Linked DNA regions of Homo sapiens: region 1 is linked to region 2. Evidence: promoter capture Hi-C in human tissues and cell types (Jung and others, 2019). All regions are on one chromosome and are shown on one strand. The core of a region is centred on a gene start or on the middle of the fragment in contact, and the rest is flanking DNA. Distances in the headings are between cores, read along the strand shown.

The links. Contacts are between HindIII fragments. The study calls those that stand out against the background at their distance.
Region 1: a contact is called between a fragment that was not itself captured here and the fragment with the promoter of UCHL1 in region 2, in 1 of the 25 tissues and cell types used here (pancreas).

What each region holds. Positions count from the first base shown.
Region 1 is chr4:41,109,437-41,112,136 of GRCh38, reverse strand. All of the region lies in intron 2 of APBB2 (amyloid beta precursor protein binding family B member 2), which reads left to right. Among named protein-coding and RNA genes, the nearest start is that of APBB2, 100 kb to the left of the region's middle. The HindIII fragment of the contact is 3,391 bases long and covers 1-2,700 here.
Region 2 is chr4:41,255,480-41,258,179 of GRCh38, reverse strand. UCHL1 (ubiquitin C-terminal hydrolase L1) reads right to left here and starts at 1,252. Exons shown (of 9, transcript NM_004181.5): 1 at 1,171-1,252; 2 at 1,054-1,065; 3 at 443-571. The coding sequence starts at 1,203. It overlaps UCHL1-DT (UCHL1 divergent transcript), which reads left to right and starts at 1,453. Exons shown (of 3, transcript NR_102709.1): 1 at 1,453-1,621. RefSeq lists an enhancer at 42-542 and a silencer at 377-1,136. The HindIII fragment of the contact is 4,741 bases long and covers 1-2,700 here.

The DNA of each region.
Region 1 (2,700 bases), core at 109-2,608, 150 kb after region 2:
TTTCTTTTCCACCTCACCTGCAGGTGCACAGTGAATGATGCTTTAATTTATTTCATTTCACCTTGCTGTGGAACTCAGCCCATCCCACCTCTGCTGTGAGAAAAGCATTTCCATCTGTTTCAACTTTCCTGTGGTTCTGTTGACCCACTTGGAAGAGCTCCAGTGTAGTGCCTGCTGGTTTTTTTCTATCTGCCCTTAATTTGGTTTGCCTTTTATTGTATTCCAACTGAACGGATTCTTTCTCTTTCTTTTAAGGGAAAGGACCTGAGAAAAACAATACTTGTAATGGCGACTGCTTGTTAAGGGTAATTGCTGTTTCATGTTAATTTGCATGTTAAAATGAGAATATAGGGAATTGCTAAATTCACCAACCTGTTCTATCCCAAGGCTAGTCCTTTTAAGTATATTTGTTGCTTAAATAAAGATGGAGCTATGCAGAATGGAAATGTCCAAATATGCAGTTTTTTTTGTGCATGTATATATAGAGAGAGCATTTAAAATTTTTATTTCCATCAGCAAGAGTCATTATACAATACATGGAAATTACAGAAAAGCAGAAAGAAGAAACCCAGAGACAACTAGCATTAACATTCTGTGAAATTATGTCTAGTCATTTCAATCTACATGTTATATACTCTTTAAATGGGAATAGTTTCACTATAACTGTCTAGAACTTTTTGCTACTCCAAAGAATGTTCTGTGGATCAGCAGCATTGCTATCTCTTGGGAACTTGTTAGAAATGCAGAATCTTGGGCTCCACCACAGACATACTGAATCATAATTTTTATTGATTGCTATTACATATACATTAAAATTTGGAAGCACTCTTCTGCAAATGGGGTCCCCAACCCCTAAGTTTTGGAGTGGTACCATTCTGTGGTCTGTTAGGAACAGGGCTGCACAGCAGGAGGTGAGTGGCAGGTGAGTGAGGAAAGCTTAATCTATATTTCCAGCTGCTCCTTATCTCTTGCATTACTGCCTGAGCTCCGCCTCCTGTCAGATCAGCAGCAGCATTAGATTCTCATAGGAGCACAAGCCCTTTTGTGACTTGTGCATGCGAGGGATCTAGGTTGCCCACTCGTTATGAGAATCTAATGCCTGATGATCTGGTACTGTCTCCCATCACCCCCAGATGGGATGTCTAGTTGCAGGAGAACAAGCTCAGGGTTCCCACTGGTTCTACATTACAGTGAGTTGTATAGTTACTTCATTATATATTACAATGTAATAATAGAAATAAAGTGCACTATAAACATCATGCATTTGAATTATCCTAAACCCCTCCAACCTCCCCTCACCCTATTGGGGAAAAATTGTCTTTCACGAAACCAGTTCCTGGTGCCAAAAAGGTTGGGGACCGCTGCTCTAGAACATACTATACCCAGGGCAGCATGTAGAGAGAACACAAAGTAGAGGGGATGCAAAGGGGCTCAGACCTATATTCTCTTCTCCATTTTCTGTCAGTCTTGCCTAAAATAATTTTTGTCAGTACATGATAAGGATAAAAATGAGGTCTTTTTTTTTTTTTTTTTGAGACAGAGTCTTAACTCTGATGCCCAGGCTGGAGTGCAGTGGTGCGATCTCGGCTCACTGCAACCTCTGCCTCCCGGGCTCAAGTGATTCTCCTGCCTCAGCCTCCTGAGTAGCTGGGATTACAGGTGCCCGTCACCACACACAGCTGACTTTTATATTTTTAGTAGAGATGGGGTTTCACTGTGTTGGCCAGGCTGGTCTCGAACTCCTGACCTCATGATCTACCCTCCTCAGTCTCCCAAAGTGCTGGGATTATAAGCGTGAGCCACCGTGTCCGGCTGAGGTCAAATTTTTTAACAGGGTACGACAACCTTGTTGAGAAACACGACTGTGCCATGTGTAATCATTTCACTCAGTAAACACTAAGTGCCTCCTGCGTGCCAGGCACATGTGTGGCAGCCACGGGCCTTGCATTCCGGCTTGCATGTGCTGCAGTGGAAACATACAGAGGCCAAGGAGGAGGGAGTGGTTGCTTCTGCAGGGATGGGGGCTGTAAATTAGAAAGAAAGGTGGTCTCTGGGTGGAGTCTTGATGGATAAATCAGTTATCATAAGTTATGAGTATTACCAGGTTCTGGAGAGAACACAAAGATGATAAAATTTGTCTCATCCTTCAAGGACCTTATGCTTGGTTAAAGGACAGGAGACAGTGTTTAAAACTAAATAATACAAAGCACCTTGATATTAGGGTAGAACCAGAAGACAAGGGTCTGAACATTAATTTTTTAGCTCCGTGACCTTTGACAAATTATTCCACATGTTGGAACATCCGATTCTTCTGTAAAATAGGGATAAAATGATATAAACACCTTTATAAAATCATATTGCTTTCTTGGCCAGGCGCAGTGGCTCACGGCTGTAATCCCAGCATTTTGGGAGGCCGAGGCGGGCAGATCATGAGGTCAGGAGATCAAGACCATCCTGGCTAACATGGTGAAACTCCATCTCTACCAAAAATATAAAAAATTAGCCCAGTGTAGTGGTGGGTGCCTGTAATCCCGGCTACTCGGGAGGCTGAGGCAGGAGAATGGCGTGAACCTAGGAGGCGGAGGTTGCAGTGAGCCAAGATCACGCCACTGCACTCCAGCCTGGGTGACAGAGCGAGACTCCATCTCAAAAACAAACAAAAAACAAAACAACCAAAAATTAGCTGGGCGTGGTGGCACG
Region 2 (2,700 bases), core at 3-2,502:
CCCTGCGATTTAGGTCAGCCCTTCCCCCTCCATTCTACAGCTAGGTGGGAGTCTGAGAAGCAAACAATGAGTTGACAGGTTATAGCCCTTAAAGGGAAACCAGCAGCCATTCCCCGGAACCGGAGGCTCGAAAAAGCCCAAGTTCGAGGGAACTCATGAGTAGGATGAATGATTTCCCTGGATAACGGGATAGATGGAACTGAGATACTGCCTCTCTTCCAAATTTAAGGCAATTGTGGACGGATGGGCAAGAAGGCGACAGGCACCGCTGGAACAGGAGCCCAGGGAGTAGGTACCACGAAAATGCAGGCTCCTCCCTTCCTTGTAGGCGCGCCCCGCATCACCTACAGGGGAGGGGGCGGGGCGGGGAGCCCCCGAGGACTCAAGCTGGGGAGCGGCGTGCACTGCCGGCGGCCGGCGCATCCTGGGCCCCACGCCCTACCTGGGCCGTGAGGGGAAACAGCAGCAGCAGCGCGCAGGCAGGCGCTGGCACCGAGCCCAGAGACTCCTCTTCCAGCCCCAGCACGTCCACGAAGCGCCACTGGCCGGCGACCCCCAGCCGGGACAGCACCTGCGGAGAGGAGACAAGGCGGCCAGGCGCACGGGGACACGCGGGTCGCGGGCACCTGCCAGGGGGCGGGGCCAGGAGGCGCGCGCCCTCCGCGCCCGCACCCGAGCCTGGGAGGAGCCCCAGTCCCGCCCTGCCACCCCCACCCGGGCCGGCGCAATGACACAGCACAAAGCGCGGCCCACACGTGGCGCCCGCGAAGCCCGTGCAGCCGAGTCTGTGCTGCCCGCGCCACGCCCTCGGGAGCTCCGCCTGGCGCTCGCTCGCCACGGGGCGCAGCCCCCTCCGTCTCCCCGTGACCGGTTTCGTAGAGTCACCCGCTAAATGCAGGGGCCCAGGAAAGGCGCCCAGCCCACGCCCCAGCCCGGCCGTCTCCGGTGCTCGCAGCGGGCGGCTTGGTCCCTGCCAGCAGCCGGAACCGGTGGGCGCCCCCGCCTCGGCGCTCGCGGGGGAGGGGGCCAGAGACGGCGCGAGACGCCACTCACTTTGTTCAGCATCTGAAAGGCAAATGCAAAGAAAAAGGCAAAACCGAACCGATCAGCGACTCGGCTCCCCCTCCCTCGGCCTCGCGCTCTCCGGGTAGCGGTGCACCTGGCGCTCACCTCGGGGTTGATCTCCATCGGCTTGAGCTGCATCTTCGCGGAGCGCCCGGCAGAAATAGCCTAGGGAAGACGAAAAACAGCTAGCGGAGCCGCCCAGGCTGCAGCTATAAAGCGCCGGCCAGACGCACTGTGAGGCCTGTGCAGGGGGAGCAGGGGCAGAACCAAGCGAGGGGGAAACGGACGGTCGCGGCCAGATGGGTACGAACCCCCCGTGCGCAGCGCGGAGTGGTACGGCCGGGCCCCCAAACCTTGCAGTCTCACTCGCCGGTGAGATAATCTGGTGGTTGTGGAGACGGGATTTGTTGGTGGGTGTTCCTTGAGTGTATGGAGCAGTCCTTTTGATGGAGTCTTTAATTTTGGGCGAAGTTTCTGGAAACCCATCCTTTCACCATCCCAATTACTCTAAAGCTCGAGTCTCTGAAGCATTTGAGAAAAAGCACAAATTCAACAGGTATATATTTAATACGAATGAATGTAAATGTGTGCCCCCCGCCCCAAATCTCTCAGCAGTTTGCGTTTAACCTTAGACAATTCCTCCTCCATGTTAAGTCAGACCAGTACCGAGGTTCGTTTTTAAGTGACTACCTAGAATAAAACAGAATCTGGTAGATAACAGATACTGCATTAGGAATGCTGATGTAATGTGACTCCCGCGGAAGAAATGGTTGGTCCTGGGAGAGCAGTAGAAAGCTGGGGGATGTGAGGGTAATACAAGACACAAAGAAGGCAGGCGATTGGAGACTTGAGAAAACAGATCCAGGGAAAAGATGGGTATGATTTTGAGCGAGAGGCTGTAAAAGGAAAAGCATTTTTAAAAGAATGGGAAGCTTTGAAAAATAAAATGTCTGAGTTCACCGCAGAATACTCCCAATGAAGAAGAAAGGGAATGGCAACCAAGGAAACCACTGTTCTCTAATGATCTCAGGTGATCTCTAATGATCTCTAGTCAAAAGATGGAGAGAGAAAGCATTTGCTGAAGAATGAATTTTAAAAGGGACCAAAATCTATAAGAATTGTGCCAGGAAAGCTAAGCTGCAGAACAAAGTGGGCTTGCAGAAATACTTAGGTAGCGAAGGAAGCAAGAAGGTTGAGTATTTTTTAAAAATAGGCACCGAAGAGAATAATGATGATGGTAAAAGAATAGACCTTCTATTTAGGAAGTTGAGGTTAACAGATGACAGAGGGAAGGGAGGGAATCAACATTTTTTGAGTTATTGTTTTTGGGGATCCTTTGCATGTGTCTCTCATTTAATCCTTAGAGGAGCCGTGAAGAGACTCATATTAGTGCAATTTTACAGATCAGAATCCCAGGCCTAGAGAAGTTAATTTGCTTACGGTCACAATTGAAAAGTAAAACTGAGAAGTAAACCCTGCTAAACTGGGCTCCAAGAGCCCATTCTTTATCTAAGATTCCACAACATTCTACTTCTATTTTCTTTCCATTTTTGCCATTAGAAAATGACCTTCACACACAAAAATGAGAGAGAAAAAAATTAGTAAGAGGAGCTTAATGGGTGAATCTTATGGTAT